Linked DNA regions of Homo sapiens: region 2 is linked to region 1. Evidence: promoter capture Hi-C in human tissues and cell types (Jung and others, 2019). All regions are on one chromosome and are shown on one strand. Each heading gives the region's core, a stretch centred on a gene start or on the middle of the fragment in contact. The rest is flanking DNA. Distances are from core to core; before and after follow the strand shown.

Region 1 (6,982 bases), core at 4,425-6,924:
TGCTTGAACCCAGGAGGTGGATGCTGCAGTGAGCCGAGATTGTGCCACTGCACTCCAGCCTGGGTGACAGAGTGAGACCCTGTCTCAAACAAACAAACAAACAATAAATGAAATATCAGTTGGTAAATGGAGGAGTAGTAATTGACACCTGCCCCTAGCCCCATGACAGGGTAAACAGGGCTGGCTAGCTAGTTTGTCCTGAAGAGAAAAATGGCAAAAAGAACATCATTATCTCAACTTTCAGATAAGAAAGTAGAAGCCAAATGAAGCTCAGAACTGTGCTGCATTCACAGAAGACGGAAATGAGCTCAGAACTGTGCTCCGCTCACAGAAGACGTAAATGTTCACCACATGTTTGTGGGAGGGCCCTTTCCAGCACACTCTGAAATACAGGCCAGCTCACCTTACCTTTGCAGGAACATCCATACCATGGCTATCACCACCAGCCAGCATGTCATACCCACTTGGAGGAGACAGGCACCGGCAGACCAGGGCAGGGTGGTTGTGAATTCTTGAGGGGACGCCAGGTCATGGCACCTAAGGTGGAATGGTTCTGGCAGCCTTTGCGGGCCTTAACAACCTCACACAGGAGGGAGTCGGCACCTCTCTGTACGGCCTGCACCTTCCAAACTGGAGGCTGAGGCTGCGCAGTGCTGGGGTCCCAGCTGCCCAGTGTCTGGAGCAGAACATCCAAGCCCATGAGCGGCTCCCGTCTGGAAGGCTGGGGGCCCAGTCAAACTTTCCTTCAGCGATTCTGCCCTCTGATTAACCAGGAAATGTGTTATTTGTTCTGAGCAGGGGAACAAGCTCTCCTGGGGAGAGGAATTCAGGGCTGGAGGTCCAGTTACTTCCAAGCAAGAAAAATCCCTGGAATTCTTTCAGGAGTCTGGGTCTCAGCAAAGGGGGCCGAAATGTGGCCCTTGTTTTTGGTCCTTATTTACCAAATTAGCTCAGGTTCTGGTAGACCTCTGGCTGCCAACATTATTCCAGTGAGACATGGAAAAGCAGTGAGTTTGCCCTGGGAGTCCAGGAGACTGCTGTCCCTTGCATGGGGCATGTGTCTGGGCAAACCTTTCCCTGCTGGAATCTCTTTATCAACCCTTTAGACTCTCTCTGCCGGGTTTTCCAGAGATGATTTTCCTCTCCAGACCCAAGAGATGGGTGAGTAGGCTTAGCAGCGATCTAATGAGGGAGAAGGCTTTAATCAGGGGGTGGGGAAGTGACACACGGTGAGTCAGCGGCCATGCTGAAACAGCTTCCCTTCTTTCACTGGGCCAAGAGGATTAAGGGTGGCAGAAAGTTCTGATAACTCCACATCTCCAGGTACATGAGCTCCAGGTACATGAACAGTGGGCTGGCAGGCAGGGAAGAGGGCATTTGGGGATATGCCCTAGAGCTCCTTTGGTGGTGATAGTGGTGGGGTGGTTGGAAAGGTCATGATTCAATTGTGAAGAGGGCTCCAGGCTTACAAGCCCGGGGTGGAGGCAAGGCGGTGTAACCTTAAAAGCTTGGGCTCAGGTGGAAAATGATCCAGGTTTGAATCCTGCCTCTGCTATTTATCAGCTGTGCCATCTTGGGCAAGCCAGTAGCCATTGCCAACCTCAGTTTCCTCCTTTGTATGCGTGGAAATCATAATGCCTCCTTTGGTTGGTTAAATCAGCCAATTGATGTAACATGCTTAGTATGGCGTTTGGACTAAAGTAGGCTCTATCGATTTTGGCAGGTTAAAAAAAAAAAGCAAAACTCAAGTGTTTGTGGGATTGGAGATTCTGAAGAGCTGCAATCAGTCCCAGCAGTTAGAGGGTAAGGGAGATATGGGCAGTAAGTAGGTGGCAGGACAGAGTGTGGCGCCGGGATGGGGTAGAAGATGCCAGTCTTTGGAGTAGATGAACTGGGTTATGGTCCCCAGGCGAACAGGGTGGGAACGTCCAAGGACCACTTGTACTCACTGAGGAGTGGAAGGGGCGCCCGATGGTGAGGGAAAGTTGGTCTGCGTGAGGGTTTTGGCGGAGGCGAAGGGTGAGGGATGAATGGGCGGCAGACTTCCAGAAATGCAGACGGAGGAGACGGAGCAGTAATAATGACTTGGACACACAGGAGGAAAAAATAGCTCAGGGACGAAGATGATGCCAAGGTTTCTGGCTTTTGGAGGCCCACGGGGATCTGAGGTGGGTCTTGAGGGATCTAGAGGGGAGCTTCTGAAGGAAGTGGGTAGGTTCCGGGGAGAGGAAGGGAGCCCAGAACTACAGAGGTGGGTGGATATCTGGGCAAGGAGAGGTAAGTGTGGACCTGGGGCTTCCACAGCTGTGAAGGAGCAGCATCCCAGGAACAGAACGCAGCATTCTGGGAACTAAGGGGCATTCATGGTCAAATGCAAGGGGTAGGGTTCAAGGAGATCTTTAGAGCCAGCCCCAAAGGCAGCAAGCACATGAACCTGGATCAGGAGCTGCCACCCAGAACTCAGTTCCTCTCTCTTAAAATGGGTCTAATGATACCAGCCCTCCCCACTTGATGGGATTACTGTGTCCTTCATTCAGTTAGCTATCCATTTCACACATACTTCTTGGCTGTTCTAGGTTCTGCAGAAACAGTGGTGAGCAACGCAGACAAGATATCTGTTGCTTTAGAGCTGTCATTGTGGTTTGGGAAGTCAGACAAGAAATGATTTTATAGGTTGTTGAATAGGACTTTTCCTCTGCTCTTGGAATATCTGCTGAAGCCACAAAGATAGAACAATGAGGGCTAAATATTCTTGCATTCTGAAGAGAAGTACTAGACACCTTACTAAAGGCAGAACAGGTTCAACAGCAATCAAACTACATCCCTCAATTCCAGTCTACAAATGAAAGGGATTGAAGAAAGTCACTGAAGCATAACACTGCTGCATTTGTGGGCAGGGCTGAGATTTCCCCTGAGGGAACTCCCCAACTCAAACCAAATGAAGGGAGCTCCCAGAGAGAACCAGTCATCTGCAAGAAGAGGAGGCTCTGTCCCTATAACTGTCCCCCCACTGATGCTGACTATGTTGCTGGATGTTACAGGCACCTCGGTGCATTAAACTACAGCAAGACAGTTCATGGGAGAACCCAACATATGTCTTTAGGAATTGAGGACGTACATAAATGAAGAGACTTGTGTGCACTTCCTGTCTGGAGAATTCTGATCGTGGAGCCTCGCTGGAGTGGCCTGTGTGGCAAGGTGAGAAGTGGGCAGGGTGAGGAGCGGCCAACCCACCATTGTTTTGCCTGGCATAGGTGGGACAGTCCTATGAGAGACAGAGGATGCAGGGGTCTCCGAGAGGTTGGCCAGAGAGTAATTTGCTATGGCAACTCAGGGTGGAGGTCCTGTAGAGAACCTCCCAAAAACCCACATATGTGCCCATGAAAAAGCCAGCGCTTGGCACCTGCCAACCAAGGGTACCTGTCACATAAGACTTTGCTACTTTTCCTCTAACACCTCTCTCCCAGCCTTGACAAAGAGGAGCCACAGCAGAAAAGGGAGGTCAGGAAAACAGACCACACCCCACTCTCACCACTGCAGGATCTCTAGCAAAGGGACAGGGGAGAGGAGGACTATTAAATGGGATGTGATATTGATTAACTTGGATGAGATTTTGATCTGGACAGGAGCAGACTTTTTGTGTCTGAAAATGGGTCTTAATTATATTAATAGAATAGTTCTCGTGTCTGGTAGGGATGACCTCTCAAGCCAAGGACTCTGCCTGAGATGTCATTAAGGGTGGGAAAGGGAAATTTACCATAATATGGTTGAAGGTAGTAGTGGAGCAGTTTCTGGATAGTCCCTCTTTAGGTTCAGCCCATTAAAAAATTCAGTTACACGAGCAAACAAATCAATAACAAGATGATGTCAACTGTTTTATGAAGATGAAACAGGGTGGTGTGTTAGAGTCATGACTGGGGTGAGGGAGGGCTGCTCTAGATTGGAGGTCAGGGATGGCTACTCCAGGAGCTGATATTTAATCTGAGAGGAGCAGTGATGAGGAACTACCCTCTAACATCCTGGAGAGGAACCTTCCAGTAGAGGGAAGGGGGCATTCACTTGGCTTGTTCAAGGAGCAGAGAGAGGGCCAAGGCAGCACAGTGTGGTGGGTAAGGGAGAGCAAGAGGCCAGATGAAATCAGAGCGGGGGCAGCCAGCTAGGGTTTGTAGGCCAAGGCCAGGGGTCGAGGCTTTATTTCAACAGTAGATATTACCTGGGCTTGTCTTTTGTGTGGTGTGGGAGGTTGTGAACTGGTGCCCACATGCCAGCTCCTTCACTCTGCCTCTCTGGGAAATAGGCTGTACAAATGTGCCAGGGGCAGCCCTGTTGATCCAAGCCTTTAGGCTGTAGGGAGGGAGCATGGGTGAGAATGGTGTGCTGATTACTGGGGACACGCAGACAGCGGCAGTCAGCATTCCCACACCCCTGCCCGCCTCCCTGCTAACACAAGATGTGAATGCACACACTGGGTCAATCGGGGTCACCGAATCCCCCTCTGGGAAATTCCCGAGAGAGTGAAGGGCTGGGTGGGATCCCGGGAATGGATTCAGCCAGAGGCGGGAGGCCTAGATTCCACTCCCCTCTTTCACATGCGCTATCTCCTTGAGTGACTTACTCAAGAGGCTCCGTGTCTTTGCCTCGGTGAAAAAGAGGACCCCTTGGCCGGGCGTGGTGGCTCACGCCTTTAATCCCAGCACTTTGGGAGGCCGAGGCGGGCGGATCACCTGAGGTTGGGAGTTCGAGACCAGCCTGACCAACATGGAGAAACCCCGTCTGTACTAAAAAATAAAATAATATACAAAATTAGTCAGACTTGGTGGCGCATGCCTGTAATCCCAGCTACTAGGGAGGCTGAGGCAGGGGAATCGCTTGAACCCGGGAGGCGGAGGTTGCGGGGAGCTGAGATCGCACCATTGCACTCCAGCCTGGGCAACAAGAGCGAAACTCCGTCTCAAAAAAAAGAAAGAAAGAAAGAAAGAAAAGAAAAAGAAAAAGAAAAAGAGGACCCCTCTTCTACCGGCAGCCATCACCGCGCCAGGCTCAGGCGTGACCCTCACGCCAGTGGAAGGGGATTGAGATCCAGAGCGAAGGCGGCGGCGCCAGGGCATTGCAGCCACGGAGCGCCAGGGCCGCCAGCTCCGCCAGGGGGCGCGCCCGGGACCTCCCTGCGCTCCGCGCGCCGCGCCCCGCCCCGCGCCACCCCCGCTCCGGCCGGCCCTGCGGAGGGCGCCCCCAGCGGCCAGGGCGCAAGCGGAGGGGGCGGCGGCCCTGTTCCCCTACGCGGGCCTCGGCGCCCCTCCCGGCTTCCTTCAGACCTGCAAGGCTGCAGCCTGGGTCCCCCGATCCAAAGACGGTCCCTGAGGCGAGGGGCGGGAGAACGATTCGGGGCAGGTCTGCAGTTCGAACTTGCCCAGAGCAGGAGAAAGGCGGCCCAGTGTCCCGGTCGTGGCAGGCGCCATCTGCCCGACCAGCGCCTGGGTCAGCCCCGCGCCGCCCCCTGCTCCGCACGGGTTAATCCCCCTCGCCGCCCGCTCGCCGCCCGCTGGCTTCCCGGTGCCAAAGTGGGTGTTGCTGGAATTCCTCGCTCCCTCTCCGGTAATGAGGGGGCTGAGCTGTCCCTCCGAGGAGGGGGCCTGGTGTGGATAAAAGAGACGAAAAAGCCGGGGGAGGTTTCCAAAAATAAAACCGTCCGGGTCCCCTTCAGACGGCTGCAGGCACAGGGAGGAGGCGCGAAGGTGCAGCAGCCGTGCGAGCCCAGCTGGAGTAGGAGCGCGGACTCGAGGCTCGGGGCGCGCAGCCCTCGTTCCGCCGAGAGCCGGGCCCCCAGTCGGCCGCTTCAGGGCCCCCTAGACTCAGAGAAGCTGGCCGCCGGGCGGGGCCGGGAGAACAGCCCGCGGGCGTCCAGCGTGCCGACCACAAAGCTCTTCGCGGTGCCCGCGCGCACCACTCTCCAGCCGCCCCGCGCCATGAGGCCGCGGACCAAAGCCCGCAGCCCGGGGCGCGCCCTGCGGAACCCCTGGAGAGGCTTCCTGCCGCTCACCCTGGCTCTCTTCGTGGGCGCGGGTCATGCCCAAAGGGACCCCGTAGGGAGATACGAGCCGGCTGGTGGAGACGCGAATCGACTGCGGCGCCCTGGGGGCAGCTACCCGGCAGCGGCTGCAGCCAAGGTGTACAGTCTGTTCCGGGAGCAGGACGCGCCTGTCGCGGGCTTGCAGCCCGTGGAGCGGGCCCAGCCGGGCTGGGGGAGCCCCAGGAGGCCCACCGAGGCGGAGGCCAGGAGGCCGTCCCGCGCGCAGCAGTCGCGGCGTGTCCAGCCACCTGCGCAGACCCGGAGAAGCACTCCCCTGGGCCAGCAGCAACCAGCACCCCGGACCCGGGCCGCGCCGGCTCTCCCACGCCTGGGGACCCCACAGCGGTCTGGGGCTGCGCCCCCAACCCCGCCGCGAGGGCGGCTCACGGGGTGAGCATGGGAGAGGGAAGTTTGGAGGGTACAGAGGGGAGCCAGGGCTCATTTGTGGAGGGGCGTGCAGGCGAGAGGAGAGGGCGCCGCTCTCATACCCTCGTCCCTCTGTCTTTAGTACTTCGGGAAACAGCCCCGAGGTTCCAAAATCGGGATTGGAAGATTTGATCCGCTTTCGAAGAGTTGAAGGCAGATAGATCATCATCCTCATCCTTTCTTACCAACTCTCCCGGAGCCCCGACGTTAAATCCTTTCGCAAGGCGCCTCTCCACTCGCCCGCGTTCCTCCTGCCTGCAACTAACGAGCTCTTGTAGACTCTTGCAGCGCTGCCGGGATCTGAGAGGCAGCGGGGAGAGGGCAGGAGGGTGGGCGCTCCAGGCTCTTGACGCCCAGGGGAGGTTGAGCTGGCTCAGAGCGCGGGTTGGCGGAGGTGTCGGGGGCCCCATGGAGAGAAGGTAGATGCGTCTCCAGGAGGGGAGCCGGCAGCGAAGCTGGTGCGTCGGGACAAGTGTCGTGGGGCGT
Region 2 (6,502 bases), core at 1,647-4,146, 210 kb after region 1:
AGCACAGTCCCTGAACCCCACTCAGAAGGTGGGGCAGGGGTCAGTGGCCAAAGGTGTGAGTCCTGGAACGCTGCAGCAGGAAGGAACCCGGGAGGTGATCTAGTCACAATCCCTCATGCTACAGATGAGACAACAGAGACCCAGAAAGGGTTGCCAGTTGCCCAGTGTCACACAGCAAGTCACGAGCCAAGCCCAGGCCTTGCCTCACAGGCCCTGGAGTTGCTGAGCTAGGCTGGTGATGTCTGCTTGCCTTGGAAACAGAAAACCCAGGGACAACTGCCGCTGCTGCCCAGTGAATATTAACAAACTTGCTTCTCTCAGCCTTCCTTCCCCGGCTGTTTCCGGCTTCAAAGGCTTCCCCGGCTGGCCCCTCCCTGGGGCTGACACCTTGGCCCTTCTATTTTTGGTGGCTTGGTAGGGGTGGGGCAGGAGAGCGACAGCCTTGCTTTTGCCTGCCCTGAGCTCATGGCAGCCCCCGGGTGCTCTCTCATCCTCTCTGCCATGGGGGGAGGAGCTACTCTGGGCGGGGGAGTCCCCACGGGGAGACTCAGATGTTCTGAACAAAAATAAAAGGTGCTCGTGTGGCCCATCTGCATTTCCAAATACTTCCAGCCCACATCCCTTGAACTGCTTTTACCTCTCTCCCACTAAAGAGCCAGGCAGGTTTCAAAGCCAGTTCTAGCTCCTCCAGGAAATGACAGAGAAAGAAACTCCCAGGGGGCAGGATCCCTCAGAGGCAGCCAGAAGGGGACAAAGGGGACAGTGAGTGTGCTTGCACCAGTGGGCAGGGCTGGGGTGAGGCAGCAGGGCCAGGCTACGTTGACAGAGCACCCTGGGTGCACAAAGGACCTTCACACCACTCTTTCTACCACTGAGGCTGGTGTTCTTGTCCCCATTTCACAGACAGGAAGACTGAGGACCTCGAGGCCTTTCCCAGTTCCACAGATCAGTGAATGGTGCCTCGTCCTCTGGGAGCCTGCTGTGGCTCCACCCTCACCCACTGCCTCCCTTCCTGAAGCCAACTCCTGGCCATTTTCCCTCATTAACCTCCGCCAGCCCTGTCCCTAACACTTGCGCTCAGAGCTGGCTGGCCCAGAGCACAGCCCAGTGGTTAACAGCAGAGAAGAGGGGAGCCCACCACCCAGTTCAAATCCCATCCCCAGCCTCTGTGCAACTTCGGGTAAGATGTTGCTTGGTGTTTTCTCATCTGGAAAACGGGGATCGTGATGGTGACTGACCCCGTTAAGATGACTGTGAATATTACATGAATTAACACTTGTATGGCTCCCGCAAAATTGAGTGTCTCGTAAGTGCTATATGGAATTTCTTTAAAATTATCTCCAGCTGACCACCATTTAAATGGCTTCCCTGCCAGAAGTGTGTCACCTCCCTCAGCCCCATCCCTTCCATAGCCAGAGATAATAGCCAAAGTCCTGATAGCTCTGGTCCCTGCTGGTCTCTGGGCAGATCTCGGCTGGCAGCAAGCTGAAGGCAGGGCCTGTTTCCCGTCTCGCTGCCTTTGTTTAGGCTGCTCCCCCTGCCTGTAATTCTGGTATCTGCCTCCACACCCTGAGATTCTTTTCCTCCAAACTGATAAAAATAATTTTCCAAGACACGTCTCAAGAAAACCTCATTTTCTCGGCAGCTGTTTCTGTCAACTCACCCCAGCCCCAACACCAGGTAGAACTAGCCACCCTCTTTCGTGAACCACCGCTACACCTGTTCATATCGACATGACGGCCACATCTAGACATCTGCTTTTCTGAGGGTGGAGCTCGTGTTTGCTCAGGGCATCCCAGGTCTGACGTGGGGACTGCCTTCCACAGACACTCGACCCTTGTTCACTGTTGACATCACTGGGAAAGAAGTGACTTGCCTCCAGGCTGGAGGGAGTCGGGGCAAGGTTCTTTCCACTTTAATTTCCTCTTCAATGGGAAAATCATCCACATCTTGGGGTAGATGGGAGCAGGGAGGAAGTCTCTAGGTGGCAAGGACTTTACAATTCCGAGGACGATCAAAGAGACCAGAAAGAGCAGTATGAGCCCGTGGGGTGCCCAGCCTGGTGGTATCTGCAAAGGGACACAGCACAGAACTTTACCCACCTCCTCCCCTCTTTCATCAGGGATGCCATAAAGACCACCCTTCTGGTGCTGCAAGGTCTGTGCTCTGTAGGAAGAATAAACAAGGGGAACAAAGAAGCCAGAGCAGCTGCTCACTGCTCTCCTCCTCTGGTCTCCCCCAGGCTGTGGGCTGAGGATAGAGAAGAGGTTCTTCCTTGGTTTCCTCTGCACCCAACTTAGCCCCTGGGTCACCCCCAACCCCCATTGTCCAAAGGAGCCTACAAGTCTGGGTACCACTGGCCTGTCCACAGTCACCTCTGAAGACCAAGGCCAGAAACAGGAGCACTTTCCCATCCTTCACCAAGTCCTGTGACTCTACCACTCCCCAATCTCCCCGACTCTATTTCCTGCTATCTCTATCTCCAAGCCCTAGTCCAAGCCCCCATCAGCTCTTACTCAGACTCCTGCAAAACCTCCTAAATGACCTATCACATGATGCAACATGGATGAACTTTAAGGAGATCAGGCTAAGTGAAATAAGCCAGTCTCCAAAGAACAAATACTGGATGATTCCATTTATGTGAGGTACCTCGGGTAGTCACATTCCTAGAAAGAGAAAGAAGAATGGTGATTGCCAGGAGCTGGGGGAGGGAAAAACTGGGATTTGTTTAATGGGCATAGAGTGTCAGCTTTGCAAATTGAGAAAGTTCTAGAGATCTGTTGCAAAACAACATGCATGTACTTAATTGTACTGAACCGTACACTTAAAATGGGTAAGATGGTAAATTTTATGCTATGTGTTTGTTTTGTTTTGTTTTGAGACAGAATCTTGCTCTGTCTCCCAGGCTGGAGTACAGTGGCACAATCTCTGCTCACTGCAACCTCTGCCTCCCAGATTCAAGTGATTCTCATGCATCAGCCTCCCAAGTAGCTAGGACTAAAGGCGCATGCCACCACACTCAGCTAATTTTTGTATTTTCAGTAGAGACGGGGTTTCGCCATGTTGGCCAGGCTGGTCTCGAATTCCCAACCTCAAGTGATCCCCCCACCTCGGCCTCCCAAAGTCCTGAAGTGCTGGAATTACAGGCGTGAGCCACCACACCTGGCAAGAAATTTTAAACATAGTTTATCTGTTTCCTTGTAAGTACCTTAGAGCAAGCTTGTCCAACCTGTAGCCTACACAGCCCAGGACAGCTTTGAATGCTGCCCAACACAAATTCGTAAACTTTCTTGAAACATTATGAAGTGTGTGTCAGTGTGTGTGTGTGTGCACGCACGTGTGTTTAGCTCATCAGCTATCGTTATTATTAGTGTATTTCATGTGTGGCCTAAGGCAATTCTTCTTCTAGTGTGGCCCGGGGAAGCCAAAAGATCGGACACCCCTGCCTTAGAGTAGGGGAGCGCTGTAATTGACACATCTCTTATTTGAGAAGTAGTGTCTGTTGCCCTTATCAGGTTTAATTACAAAATTTGATCATGATCATATTGTAGCCTCTCAAAGTGCTCTAGAAATTGTCAGTGGTATACATGAAGCGGCAGTGGTGTCTGGTGCACTCTGAAATGCTATCAAAGTTGTACATATTTCCAAACATTTTTAAAATGAAAAGGCACTCTTGTGTTCTCATTCTGTGCGCTTTGCTATTGGAGTGACAAGGCATTTAAAGATGTTTCTGGCTTTTTTTTTTTTAATAAGGTGGTGTTAACTATCTGGTTATTGACTAGAAATCCTGAGTTATCAATTGTATATCTGTACGGTTTGTAAAAAGAACAAAACAACCAAGGCAGACTCTTGACGGCTCCTTGCTTGGCATTGAGGCTCTGGGGGAAGATGCCTTTTGGAGGGGCTGTAGCTCAGGGCGTGCACTGTGAATCTGGACCTGTTGACTCTGCAGGGCTTCCATTTAGCTTCAAGTTGTCTTGTTTCTGCATATAGTGACGGAGCATTCTGCTGCCATTCTTAGCTGTGGACAAAGAGGGTCAGCCGGCATGAGAAGTGTTTGGGGGGTTTAGTTTGTTTGTTTTAGTTAAGTGTGGTAATTTTTAAACTTTTTTTTTTTTTTTTGAAACAGGGTCTCACTCTGTTACCCAGGCTGGAGTGCAGTGGCGTGACCTCGACTCACTGCAGCTTTAACCCCCTGGACTCAGGTGATCCTCCCACCTCAGCCTCCTGAGTAGCTGGGACTACAGGCACCTGCCACCATGCCAGGCTAATTTTTGTATTTTTTTGTAGAGACAGGGTTTTGTCATGTTGCCCAGGCTGGTCTCGAACACCTGGGCTCAAGTGATCCACCCACTTTGCCCACCTCGGCCTCTCAAAGTGCTAGGATTATAGGCATGAGCCACCACGCCCAGCAGAAAACTGTTTTTAAACAAACTGTAGAACTCCTCATTATCAGCAAAGCAAGAGACATCACGTCAATGAAAGTTCAAGAACCGTCTGTATTTAAACACGATTTGTAATGTTCTGTTATTTTTTGTATGTTGAGAATGCTGAAATGTGTTTGAAGTTAAACAAATGTATTACATGTTTTAAATATTCTAATGCTATTATAAATCTGCCCAGTCTCTTTTCGAGGATGATTTTAATGCGGGGAGGAAAAAAAAGCAACCCTCTGAAATGTTCTCCCTGCCTCCTCCCTGGCCTCTTTTTAGCTACATTGAATTTTCCTGAAGGCAAATTTGGTCGAGTCATCCTCCCTTGATTAAAGCTTTCAAAGGACATCTATTTCTCTTAGATAAAAAACCAAACTAACCTGCTTATGAGCCCCTGCCACTTCACACCACAACCCAAGCTCCCTGCACCTCACCATGTCTGCCTTCCTTCAGCCCTTCACACTTGCAGGGCCTTTGCATATGCAACTTCTTCTGCCTGAAATACTTTTCCTTTCCTTCTTGGACTAATTAGCTCCTATTCATCCTTCCTGCCTTGGTTCTAAAGGCACTTCCTCTGGGAAGCCCTCTTCTCCCCAGCCTGGCCAGGTCTATCCCCATGATTGAACATCTTTGAGCCCCATGTTCTCCTTCTTCAAAGCCCAGGTTCCAGCTGTAATTGTGCGTTTATTTCTCTGAGTATCAGACTAATGTCTGACTTCTCACATTATAACTCCTGTGCCCAGGTAGGTGACAGCTTAAGCAAACAAAAACAAAAGGACTGTCAAAGACTCGTAAAATCAACTACATAAATTGAAGCATCATAATAAAAAGATATAGAGTATTTACTCTGTGCCAAACCTTGTTCTAAGCACTTTACAAATATTACTCAGTGAACCCTTGGAATATCCCTAGGAGGCTGGTTCTATTGAGATCCCTGCTTTAGGGATAAGGAAACTGAGGTCCAGAAAGGTAAAGTAACTTGCCCTTTGTCACACAGCGAATAGGTGGAAGTTGGAATCTAAACCCAGCTAGCAAGGGGAATTTGAGCACAGGTCATCCTCCTCCACAGTTCAGGCACCTTGGTCATGACCCCATCCCAACCCTCAAGCCTGATGCCACTGATCTGTTTCTCTCTGCCCTCCTCACTTCCCCCATTGCCTCTTTCCTATTCCCTTCCTAAATGACACTGGGCAGGGTGAGGGTCATGGAGAGAGGAATGTGTGTTTTAAGGAATAGCCGCTCCCTGCAACCTAAAGAAGGCCAGCAAAACTGCCTAGCACTCGTGAAGCCAGCCAGTGGATGGTGATGACCAGAAATAGCCTTTGGTTTTCTACGAAGAGGACAGAGCCATAGGAACCCACATCCCATAGGGACCCAGAACAGACACCTAGAGAGGGAGCAGGGATCCTGGGAAACAGGACCACCAGGACCTGGGGAGGGGGTTGGTCCCTGAGTTGGGGATGACAGCCAGTATCCAGCTAGAGATGTGTGTCAGTGGCATGAGTGCAGGTCCTGGCTGCCATACCCTTCCCACTGTGCAGGCCTCTGCCCAGGAGACAGGCCATTTGCCACCCTGCCCATGCAGGGGAACTGTGTGTTGCTCAGGATAGCTGGAGGGATGTGCTGGAGCCAGAGGTTTCCTGTGGATAGCTGCCTGCTTACATTGGATAAACCACGAGCAGGCAATGAAAGGAGACTTCAGAGTTTTAGACTTGGATTCCAAAGTGCCACCATATGCCAGCTACTGTGCTTATTCTTTTTTGAATTAGCCCACATTTTATAGACCATAAAACTGAGGCTCGGAGAGGTAAGTTAAATTGCCCAACTAGCAAGGAAGTGGGGCGCCTTAGAATTCATTACGAGGTCTTCAGTCTCCAGATTAACCCTCTGCTCCTCAAACCCCATCTTCCAGTAAGGAAGAGTCTGAAAATGGCAGAAAAACTCAGGTGCAGGGACCAGCTTCCACTCCTACCTGAAATAATTCTTCACTTTCTTCTTTACCTCAACCTGGGCAGGAGCTGTGTCTGGTTATGTGAGCAGGGAAACATCTCATTACTCACCAGCCCTCT

What was found. The method cuts DNA at HindIII sites, captures the fragments that hold promoters and counts their contacts. A contact is called where the count stands out against the background at its distance.
Region 2: a contact is called between a fragment that was not itself captured here and the fragment with the promoter of LTBP2 in region 1, in 1 of the 25 tissues and cell types used here (IMR-90 fibroblasts).

Annotation. Positions count from the first base shown.
Region 1 is chr14:74,610,929-74,617,910 of GRCh38, reverse strand. LTBP2 (latent transforming growth factor beta binding protein 2) reads left to right here and starts at 5,674. Exons shown (of 36, transcript NM_000428.3): 1 at 5,674-6,460. The coding sequence starts at 5,967. LOC101928352 (a long non-coding RNA gene) reads right to left here and starts at 4,726. Exons shown (of 2, transcript XR_944029.4): 1 at 4,616-4,726; 2 at 3,863-4,344. RefSeq lists enhancers at 1-382, 4,991-5,618 and a silencer at 5,044-5,363. The HindIII fragment of the contact is 13,991 bases long and covers 1-6,982 here.
Region 2 is chr14:74,395,520-74,402,021 of GRCh38, reverse strand. No RefSeq gene overlaps it. Among named protein-coding and RNA genes, the nearest start is that of SYNDIG1L, 27 kb to the left of the region's middle. RefSeq lists enhancers at 14-343, 1-470, 6,334-6,502. The HindIII fragment of the contact is 6,963 bases long and covers 1-6,377 here.